2 separate regions of the Homo sapiens genome follow, and region 1 is linked to region 2. Evidence: promoter capture Hi-C in 16 types of primary human blood cells and fetal thymus (Javierre and others, 2016). All regions are on one chromosome and are shown on one strand. Each heading gives the region's core, a stretch centred on a gene start or on the middle of the fragment in contact. The rest is flanking DNA. Distances are from core to core; before and after follow the strand shown. Region 1 holds the start of LIMD1 (LIM domain containing 1). Region 2 has its middle 19 kb from the start of CLEC3B.

Region 1 (5,521 bases), core at 233-2,732, 550 kb before region 2:
GGCTTCTAATTTCAACTCAGCAGCAGAGGGTCTCAGCTCAGGACCTGGGACGAGGGGCTGGCAGGGCAGCCTTACCCTAGGGGAGCTGGGGCTGTCCAGGAGCACAGATCCCAGGCTACCATCAGAAGACCAGCCCAGGGGACCCTCTTTACAAGATAACTCAGGCAGGGTGGACATCACTGGATGGACAAGACTGGTGGGGCTGAGCTTGGGACCAGTGCCAAGGTCTGTGCAGCCAGGCTTCGGCCCCAGCCCAGGGACCGCACCCTGCTGTGAACCGTCCAGACCAGCTGGCGAGGATGACGGGGCAGAACTGGAAAGGTAAGATTTGGGCCCATCCTGGAACCAGGGTTGGGGGTCCACATTGGGTTTGGACATCACACCTGAAACCTCACCCCCCAGCCCCGAGTTTGATCTTGGAAGACCTCCTTGCCTGGGGCAGCTCAGGGCCAAGGGTGCTGACACAGAAGGGGTCCTGGGCTGAACAGGCCCCACAGCTGGTGCTCCGTTCTCCAAGTTTGGGGAAGGCAGGCCAGGGCTCACCCGCTGGGAGGAGGCAGTGGACCAAAGGCCTGTTGGCTTCTCGCTGCTGCGGCCACCAATGCCACTATTCTGACCACCGAGGCTACCCTCAGAAGACCTGCTGGAGCTCAGGGAGAGCTGTCGGTGATTTAGGGGATGGTCCCCGCAGGGTTTGGGCAGTGGTGGGTCACTCCCCGGGGAGCTAGGCCACCCACTCCCTACACTCAGGCCGATGCTGGGGGACACTCCTGGTTTGTCACCCCACTTTGGGCTTGCCAAGGAGAGGTTGTCATAATAGTCTCCATGAGTGAGGCAGGAAGGATCCTCACAGGGGCCTGGCTGGTGGAAAGCAGACATCTCAGAAGTCGCCAGGCTCTCCCTGGAACCACAGTCCTGGCTGCCATGCCTCGTGCCATGCAGGTATGGCCTGGATCTCTGCTCCTGCGGTGGGTACGGGGGCTGCCCAGCAGCGAGGGTGGTGACTGCCCCAGGTGCCCCTGTCGAGGCAGCAAGAGGAGGCTTGGCAGCACCATCCACAGTCAGCTTGCTGCCCACAACTTCCCAACGGGCCTGTGGGCCCAGGCGGCCCCCTCCATTGACAGGGCCTCTACTCCCCCTGGGCAGAGTCTCCTCCTGCAGGAGCTGCTGCTGCTGCTGCTGGAGGTGGATTTTGGCCATCTTGGTGGCGAACACCCTGCGAGTTTCCTCAAACTCGGGGTTGTTGCCTGCACCCTTGTCCACTCGGAAGAGCCCATCCTTAGAGGCCTCATACATGTTCAGGTCCTCGATGAATTTACTGGCCTCCAGGCCCAGGTCGTCATACTTATCCATGCTGCAGACAGGTGTCCGGGCCTAGCCCAGGTGCCGTGTGTGTGTGTGTGTGTGTGTGTGTGTGTGTGTGTGTGTGTGTGTGTGTGTGTGTGTGTGTGTGTTGAGGGCAGCGGGGAGATGCTGGCGAAGGGTCGGGGCTCAAGTCCGGCCCAGTACAAGTAAAGACTTCCACCTGCCTAGCGTGAAGGGCATGACCCCAGGATTTAAGAGTCCAGCCGAAGTTGAGACCTCAACGCCAGCTGGACCAAGTTTGCTTCCAACTCCCTTTCCCCTGGAGACGTCCTTGTTGGGGTAGCTGGTGGCACTTCGCCGTCCCGGGCCTGCTCAGCGGAGTTCTTTTCTCCTCTTCAAATTATAAAAGGAAAAAGAAAACAGCAAAAAAGTAAAATCACATCCTCCTTAGGCAACCAAACACGGAAACTCACAGCAAGGCAGCAGCCGACTGGGCCGGGTGAAGCTGAATCGGCCGGGAGGGCGCCGAGGCCGCGAGTCGGGCCGGAGCAAACGCGCGGCGGCTGAGGCGCAGGTACGTTCCAGGCGCTGGGTCCTCCGCTGCTTCCCCGGAGCTGCGATCCCGGCCGGCGCCTGGCAGGAACGCCGTCCGGGACGCACGGGCGGCCGAGCAGCGGCAGGAAGTTCACGGCAGCTGGGGCTGGCGGCCCATTGTCCGATGGCGGCGGCGGATCGGCGCGCGCGGGCCGGAGGGCGGCGGGACGCGGAAGTGAGTGCGCCAGGCGCAGTCCCTGCTGCTCGCTCGCCGGCTCTGCACGTCCCGAGCCCGCGCCGGGGCGGAGGGGGCGGCCGAGGGGCGGGGACGGCGCGCGGGCGGGCGCCCAGGGGCAGGCCTGCACCCGGCAGCGTGGCTGGGCCTCCTGCCCCCAGGCCTGGCTGGAGAACACCGAGGGGTGCCCCACAAGTCCGTCCCACGCTCTAGCACTGGGACTGCACGGGACTTCGCCGCCGCCACTGCCGCCCCCTGCGAGTCCTGGACCGAATTGGGTGCTCCGACCTCCCTTCCAGCCTCGGGTCCTCAGCCCGGCCCCGCCCCTGGCAGCGCTGGGCGGGGTCCTCCGCTCGGAGACGGGCGGCCTGGGTAGCCTGCATGGGCCCAACACAGGCGCTGGGAGTTTGCGAGGACTTTCGAGGACGCCGCTCCTCGCTCCACTGCCTCAGTTTCCCCGGTGGAAAGCCAGCCCTTTGTGCCTCTCGAGGCCGGCACCGTCCAGGCTGTGCCCGCCGCCCGGCTTGCCCGAGGTGCACTATTGGAGAGGCGCACGGGCGTGTCACCCATGGCTGGCCCACCGTCCTCTTTGACAGGTCGGGAGACTGAGGCAGAGAGGGGGAAATGCCCAACATGCCAACGTAACCAGCAAAGCGTAGATGGGAGCCCGGGCCCTCTGAAAGAGCGAAAAAGAAGAAAGTCTCGTTGTGCCTGCGCGCATTTCACGTCCTCAGTGCAGCAGTAAAAGCACGTGCCCTAGTAGGCTCGTTATTCGTAGAGGGACCCATCTGCAAGTGGATCCGCGCGGCTGCAGGGACACCAGGCCTGACTCCTTGGCGCCCCCGCATGGCCCGGGACTCCCTATACCAGTTCCCAGGCGATCCTGGAGAGGTTTCATTTCCCACACTACAGCCATCGTGATCCTAAGGCAAATACTAGAACAGACACTTCTCTACCTAAATCCTCAGTGCTTACCCCAGAATTAAATTGAAATCGGCCCCTTGCCGCAGCCTTCTGGGCCAGATCTAGGGATCTTCCCTCCCTCCCTGCACTCTAGCTGCAGGAGCTTCCTGGTGTCTGCCCAGAGCTTGCCCCTAAACTGAGTGGCTCATCTTTCCCATCCCTGCTGAAGTCACCTCCTCTTAGAGGCCTCCTCAGAGTGGTTCCTGTTGTTCTTTTTCAGCACCCTCTTTACTTCCTGCTCAGTTCTGATAACTATTTATAATTATTTATTTGTTGGTTAACATGCGTTTTTTTTTGTTTGGTTGGGTGGTAGGTTTCCCACTCCATTTGACCATATCTGTATGCCAAGTGCCTGGTATATATTAATAGTAGTACCTAATGGTCGAATAAGTGAATTAGTGAACCCCTATCTGCCAGAGTTGTGACAGAGAACAAATAAGATAATATATATGAATGTGCTTTATATTCTGTAAACCAGGGGTCCCCAACCCCTGGGCTACTGACCAGTACTGGTCTGTGGCCTGTTAGGAACTGAGTGGCACAGCAGGAGGTGAGAGGAGGCAAGCCAGCGAAACTTCATCTGTATTTACAGCCACTCCCCATTACTGGCATTACCGCCTGAGCTTCACATCCTGTCAGATCAGCAGTGGCATTAGATTCTCAGAGGGGTGCACAAACCTTATTATGAACTACCCTCATGAGGAATGTAGGTTGCACGCTCCTTATGAGAATCTAATGCCCGATGATCTGAGGTGGAACAGTTTCATCCCGTCTGTGAAAAAATTGGCTTCTGTGAAACTGGTGCCAAAAAGATTGAGGACCGCTGCCGTAAACCCAAAGTATGGTTAATGGACTCCATATCACCAGGGAGCTTGTTGAAAATGCAGAATCTTAGGCCCCATTGCCAACCTACTGAATCAGAATCTGCATTTTAACAAGATTTCTGGGCGGTTTATTTGCACAATAAAGTTACAGAAGCACTGCTATAAAGCACTATACTAAAATGAAGTATTTTTATTAAAAAATTTTTTTTGGTTTTTTATCTACAAGTAATACATGTTTCTATAACAACTTTGAACAATACAGACATATATAAAGTTTTAAAAGTTGCCTACCATCCCCTTTCTCAGAGGTAATCATAATTAAACACTCCTTAGGTGTTGGGTAATACTTATTAATTAAAAACTGGATTTTGGAGTGGAAGACTGGCTCACTTTGCCTGACCTCCAAATATGGCAGTTGTAGCTGACAAAGTGCTAGGAATATATGGCCATCCCTCTGCAAAGTCCAGTAAGCTCAGAGCCAGCTTCCTGGGTTTTCAGTTTGGACAGCTGGGACCCTGGTGCAGGAGCCACAGACACCAACCAGTGCTCTTACATTTGTCTTCTCTTTTCATCCTATCTTGGTGATGGCAGCAGTGGTCCATCTGGAGCAGCCACTGCCATGATGCTAGCTGCAATGGCGAGGTGAGGCCGTGACTGCATGCTCCATAGAGCTGGTAGGAGCTAGGAACAGGCAGGAGCCCCACTCCCTTCTGAGTTGGTGGGGCGGGAGCCCTGCCTTCCCAGGCACAGCTGCATCCACCCAGCTGTGGCTGCAGACCTGGGCATCCCTGTGCTCCCGGGGACCTAGAAAGCCCCCCTACTCCCACAGGCTCAGAAGTGCCTGCTCCTGTTGCCTGGCCTCTCCTGGTGCCCATTCTGATTTTGGAGCAAAGTTGAAGCTGAGCCCAGATACTGTCACGACCCAGCTGGGGGTGCACGCACTCAGGGCAGCACTGACACACCAGTCCCCTGCCGCCTCGGCCCCCTCCAGACTTTGGGTGCCGATGAGCATGGGAGGGAGGCCAGGGTGAGGCTGAGGGCAGTTCGGCATGTACCTGCAGGCACCCCTCAGCATGAACAGCCTGGGTGCCATGGGTGCCATGGCCAGCAGGTTGATGGCAGCAGGGGGCAATCAGGCTCCTGGGTGAAATGGGATGGGTCCCCAGTGAAGCCCCCTTCAAGACAGGGACAGCCTGAAACCTAGGGGCTGAGCTATCAGTCCTGCAGACTGGAGTGAGAATTTATGGTGCTTTTCCTGGGCCTGCCTATGGCTGCCGGTGGACCAATCAGCACACACTTCCTCCCTTCTGAAGTCCATAAAAAAAACCAGACTCAGCCAGACTCAGGCAGACAATGGGATGACCTGCCTGCAGATAGGAGCTACCCACTCTGGGTCTCTCTGCTGAAGGCTGCAGAGACATCGGGGCAACCTGCCTGTGGAAGGCAGCTACCCACTGTGGGTCTCTTCTCCACTGAGAGCTGGACACTCATCGGGACAACCTGCCTGAGGAAAGGAGATACCCACTGAGAACAGTTCTGCCACTCAGTGAGGCTCCTTTCTGCCTTGCTCACCCTCCAGTTGTCTGCATACTTCATTCTTTGTGGACACAGGACAAGAACTTGGGACCCACTGGGCAAATGGTGGCACTAAAAGATCTGT
Region 2 (6,071 bases), core at 72-2,571:
AGCAGAAAAAAACCCCTATACAAATGTGCCTTAAACTGTATACTGCTGGTGAGTAAATACATTCGTACAAGAGTCTTTGTTTTTGTTTTTTAAAAAAAGCTTTTGTTGTGCATTCTGAATTTTGCTTTGGGAAATATGGTTTCTTTATGTCATGTTAAGTAACAGAATTGCAATTAGAAGCATCAAAAATAAATAAATTCTACTTCAACTACTACATTTTCATGGCACCTTTCTGTGAGGAAATTTGCAGCTACCCTCTACCTCAGTGGTTCTCAGCTTCTCAACTGGGGGTAATTTTTCCCCCCAGGGGACATTTGGACTGGTCTGCAGACATTTTTGGCTATCACAGCTGAAGCAGGGTATTGCTGGCGTCTAGCGGGCAGGGGTCAGGGATGCTGGAAAACATCCTACAATGCCCAGGACAGCCCCCACAACAAAGAATTATCCAGCCCCAAATGCCAATAGTGGCGAGGTTTTGAAACACTGCCCGGCTGATCCTCTTAGTCCTCTTGCAAGGAAACCAGCAGCACAGGTGACTTAAATGGGCACTGAGGGGCATTCTAGATAGGCTTAGTGGGGAGACTTCTGAGACTGGGAGCTCTCATATGGAAAGGATTATCCCTGAACCAGCCCCAGAGCAACAGGGCAACATACAGCCATCTCCTAATGGTAGACCATTCATGGAAATCAAGCATTCTGCAGAATAGCACCCTCTGTCCTATTTAAATGGTAAACTCTGGCTTAATGAATGCCCCAAGTCCCCAGTAGATTTCCAAATATGTAACTAAAACACTCACACACGCACGCACACACACACACACACACACAAATCCCTTATGTAAGTTACAGAAACTATCATGTCAGAAAGTAAAATGCCGTAAAACTCGATTCCAAGCACTACACTTCCTATACAGCAACATCTGAAAGAGGTGTACCCACACCTGCCCTGCCATTCTAACCATTGTCTTTGGGATGTAATCTGAAACTTTCCCAGCCTATCTTGATTAAAATCCACTGAGTCTTGTGGACTGTCAATAGAAATTTTTCTTAAAAACACTGGATGAAAAACATTGAGAGATACATTTTGTGGGGTTTGAGTATTAAAAATCCAGAAGCAACACAGCTTGCCAGGACAAAAGAAAAAAAAGCCAGAGGTATATTTGACATGGAAAATGTTCACTGGAAACATGTGAAGCATATGCTTGTATTTTAGAGCCCCAAAACACTTTTGGGGGGCCAGGAAGAAAGATTTTGTTGACATTTTTTTCCTCCTCATTGACCTCTAACTCTGTGTGTTGTCCTAGTCAAGCTGGTAAGCAGCTCCAAGGGGATGCTGGATCACTGGAGATGTTAGGAGCCCTACATTGAGAGCATGGAAACCTGGATTCCACCTCTGCTTACTTTGTCTTTATCAGTGGTACTCAGAGATGCAGATAGCTTTGTCCTCAACTGCAGGACATGGACATAAACACGAAGGTACGGCCAGGCGCGGTGGCTCACTCCTGTAATCCCAGCCCTTTGGGAGGCAGGCGGATCACCTGAGGTCAGCAGTTCAAAACCAGCCTGGACAACATAGTGAAACACTATCTCTACTAAAAATACAAAAATTAGCCAGGCGTGGTGGCCCGTGCCTGTAATCTCAGCTACTTAGGAGGCTGAGGCAGGAGAACTGCTTGAAGCCAGGAGGTGGAGGTTGCAGTGAGCCAAGATTGCACCATTGCACTCCAGCCTGGGTGACAGAGTGAGACTCTGTCTGAAAAAAAAAAGAAAGAAAGAAAGAAAGTACAATGTTAAGTGTATGTAAGCCCCCAGTTGGGCTCCATCCACCTCCACCCAGCTCTGTGCCCTGGGAGTCTGACCAGACTGCATTGCCCGGACCCACGGCTAGCTGGCTTCCAGCTGGCTTCCCCCAGTGGAAAGCACCTGCAAGAGTTAAGAGGTTGTACAGAGGCAGGTGCTGGGCTCTTTCCTCCCAGTCTCCTCTGTGTGCTTTGCTGCATTTTCTGTCTATGGCTATGTCCTCCACCGAGAGATCGCTTATTGCGTGGACCGGCTATGGCTCCAGCAGCATTATTTCCTCCTGTGGCCTTCTGCCTGACAGGGTACTTCCCGCTGTGGCCAGCCTCTGAATGCCTTAATATCCCTTGTCGTTTTGCTGAATAGTACCCAGAGCTGTGTAAGTATGGGAAGCACTCACTTTGCACAGTAGTCTAGGACTGTAAAATGGCCATGTAAGCTGAAACCATGCAAAACAATCTTAATAATCGATGGGGAAGAGGACGATTGTCCTCTGACCTTTCAAAAATGTTTGTCAAAACATTAAACTTTCTTACTGTCAGTAAGAGAAAAAGTCGCAAAAATTGATATTAAATACACTAATTGAAAACATTAGAAACATTGGAAATTAAAGTGTTTTCTTTGTGAAAATCTTACCGAGAACCGTTTGGACAGTGCTTGCCACTTCCTTCCCATTATATATAGATTTCGATTCAGTGGGTATCTTTTCTATTCCCGGAAAATTGTCATCCTCCTTCTCAAGCTTGGATTAGTTCTTACATTTTATCTTTCTTGCTTTCAATGTCACAAAATATCTCTAAGAATTCCTTTTCGTGGTTTTTTGCTGGCATCATTTCCTCCAGGACATCTTTATCCTTTTTGCCACAGGCACTGTTGTCATTTATGTAGATAAGCTCACGGTCACTACGTTCCTCTGGTTGCATATCCAGAACTTCAAACAGCAGCAGCATCCACCTTCCCACAGTCAGCTTTTTCTTTTCTAACTCCATTTATATTCTACACAAACCTCACTTCCATCATTCTCACTTTGCATTTCTTTGCTGCATTTTTATCTTTATTAGTCAGTTCCCTCTTTCAATTATCCATTTTTGTAAACTGTCACATGAATTTCTCACCAGAAGACAAAGTGCAACACAACTACACACTGTGCTGCCAGTGGATGAGCTGAATAACAGGCACATGGTGCCCAGTCACCAATACACTTTGAAAGAAGCAATGTGGTGGGTCACTGATCATGCAGCATATCTGTTAGTGATGTGTGGCCTGAAGAGTTAGCAGTGAAATTATACTTTAGCAAGGGGCCAGGTGCAGTGGCTCACACTTGTAATCCCAGCACTTTGGGAGGCCGAGGGGGGGACATCACTTGAGGTCAGGAGTTTGAGACCAGCCTGGCCAACATGGTGAAACCCCATCTCTACTAAAAATACAAAAATTAGCCAGGTATGGTGGCATGTGCCTGTAGTCCCAGCTATTCAGGAGGCTGGGGCTGGAGAATCACTTGAACCCAGGAGGCAGAGTTTGCAGTGAGCCGAGATCATGCCACTGCACTCCAGCCTGGATGACAGAGCAAGACTCCATCTCAATAAATAAAAAATAAAATAAAATAAAATTATACTTTACCAGTATAACAATGTAGCTGAAATTTGAACTATCTGGTTGGGGGACTGTGTTATTTAACTAAAACATGATCATTGATATTTAAGCATATCAGAACTGTATAAATTGAGGACTGCCTGTAATCCTTTCAGTCTTTTTTTTTTTTTTTGAGACAGAATCACACTCTGTTGCCCAGGCTGGAGTGCAGTGGTGCGATCTCGGCTCACTGCAACCTCTGTCTCCTGAGTCCCAGTGATTCTCCTGCCTCAGCCTCCCAAGTAGCTGGGATTACAGGTACGTGCCACCATGCCCAGCTAATTTTTGTATTTTTAGTAAAGATGGGGTTTCAGCATGTTGGCCAGGCTTGTCACAAACTCCTGACCTCAGGTGATCTGCCCACCTTGTCCTCCCAAAGTGCTGGGATTACAGGCTTAAGCCACCAGGCCCGGCCTCATTACAGTCTTTTGAACTGAGTTGGAATCTGTTTCCTACTGGGACATGACTGGTAAAAGGGTGCAACTAACTCTCCAAGGGAGTGGGAGAATAAAAAAGCTGTGCAAAGTTTAGTCAAGCTCTGCCACAGAGTCACAGAGCCAGCAATCAATGATCCTACCATGCAGGAATAGGCAGGTAGGAAGCTACTTAGGGGCATAGCACTCTCCTAGGTTCATGCTCTTTAAGAAGAGGCCTCTTGAGAGGGCTAATTCCAAAGCAAAGGCTGAGAAAGCCATGCTTAGGAACTAGGAATTTGTTGAAAAGGAACTAGGATTTAACCCAGCCGCACAATTGAAAACATTCTTCCTCTACTGAAAGACTCATAGGAGCAAGCTTTTGGGAACCAGACGGATGAGTCATCATTTAGTCTTCAAGATCTTTTAATTCTCCTGCCCCCTAGTTTCCAGTTCCCTCCAACATTCAGGCTTTGGGTCTGCAATGGCTCCATGACACAAACTTCTAGTTGCTTCCCATTTGCCCTTTCCTTAAAGAGTTTAATTTAATTTGGGTGTCAAGGTAACTACTTAAAAGATTGCACTTCTCAGCCTTCCTTACAGCTACACACTGGAAAAAGTTCTGGCCTATGCGATAGATATAAGGAAAAGAGAACACTCCTTAAAGGAAGCTGACTGGAGGCCAGGCACGGTGGCTCATGCCTGTAATCCCAGCAGTTTGGGAGGCCGAGCCGGGCAGATCACCTAAGGTCGGGAGTTCAAGACTAGCCTGACCAACATGGAGAAAACCCGCCTCTACTAAAAATACAAAATTAGCCAGGCATGGTGGCGCATGCCTGTAATCCCAGCTACTAAGGAGGCTGAGGCAGGAGAATCGCTTGAACCTGGGAGGCAGAGGTTGTGGTGAGCTGAGATCACGCCATTGCACTCCAGCCTGGGCAATAAGAGTGAAACTCCATCTCAAGAAAAAAAAAAAAAAAAAGGAAGCTGACTCGACCTTTCTTACCCATTCTTCCTTTCTGAAGTGGGGATAATAATGGCTGGAGCTCCAGCAGCCATCATGGACCCTGAGGTGACCTCAAAGATGGAAGCTCCATGCTAGGATGGTAGAGTGGAAAAATAGAAGGAACTTTGATCTCCAATGACCATGAAGTGGCCAGACCAGCACTGGACTACCTGGCTCAAGTTTTCTGTCTTGTTTAAGTCTCTGTTTTTATTTTTTTAATATATTTTATTTTATTATTCTTCTTTTTAAAGATGAGAGTCTTGCTATATTGCTTAGGCTGGTCTCAAACTCCTGGGCTCAAGCAATCATCCTGTTTCAGCCTCCTGAGTAGCTGGGATTACAGGAGTGGGCCATCATACCTGGCTAAGTCCCGGTTATTCTGGATTTTAAACCAAATCTAATCCTAGCTGATAAGCATGCCTACTTCCTACTGAAATTAACTGATTACACTAAGTTCTTCAACTCCAACCTCTGCTTCTTGTTAAAATCAATTTAAAACGACCAATCTGATTGTCACCAAACCTGGTTAGTGTGCATGGTACCATTGCTCAATAGCTAGAGTGGTAGGAATTTCTTGAGGAAGACTCAAGAAATGGGAAGAGATATTCTAGGGCTGATGAGTTTTTTTCCAAAAGCCTAACCTAGGAGGCAGCTGGCTTCACATAAGTCTGGTTCCCAACCACTACATCTTGGAATCACCTGGGGAGCTTTAAACACTACCAGTGCCTGATTCTGCTCCCCAGAGATTCTGATTTAACCAGTCTAGAGTGTAGCCAGGGTATTGGGTTTTCTAGAAAGTACTTCAGGTGATTTTACTGTCTGGCATGGCCTGAGAACCACTGACCTAACTTTCAATTTGGCCAGATCCTTATTAGTTCAGAGCCAACTGCATTGCCAGACTATCTTCCCTAGAGAATTGTCTTTCTTGTATAATAAGGAACTAGGTCACAGCTGAGCTCACTGTGGTTTTTTCCTACCCAGGTAAAGTCATGCTTTTTGTTATCTCTTATGTAGGGGAGTTTCGTTTCCAAAGCTTTTTCATCGGTACCATTGTTCCACAATCTTCATAATTGTGTGCCAAGCAGCAGGGCAGAGCCTTTACACAGGTGTAGTCCACAACAGCAGCGTGAGGGAGGGAATAAGCCCACCTGCCAGATGGGAAAACAGCCTCAGAAAGAGTGATCCTAAGCCTGGGTCACTGTGGTTCCCAGTGGATGATCTGT

Evidence for each region. Contacts are between HindIII fragments. The CHiCAGO score rates a contact against its expected background, and 5 or more counts as called.
Region 1: the fragment with the promoter of LIMD1 here is called in contact with a fragment that was not itself captured in region 2 in 4 of 17 cell types (erythroblasts, M1 macrophages, fetal thymus and 1 more); the score reaches 8.0 in erythroblasts.

The regions. Positions count from the first base shown.
Region 1 is chr3:45,590,712-45,596,232 of GRCh38, reverse strand. LIMD1 (LIM domain containing 1) reads right to left here and starts at 1,482. Exons shown (of 8, transcript NM_014240.3): 1 at 1-1,482. The coding sequence starts at 1,353. RefSeq lists an enhancer at 1,606-1,775 and silencers at 1,866-1,995, 2,006-2,475. The HindIII fragment of the contact is 13,631 bases long and covers 1-5,521 here.
Region 2 is chr3:45,042,076-45,048,146 of GRCh38, reverse strand. No RefSeq gene overlaps it. Among named protein-coding and RNA genes, the nearest start is that of CLEC3B, 19 kb to the right of the region's middle. The HindIII fragment of the contact is 2,440 bases long and covers 102-2,541 here.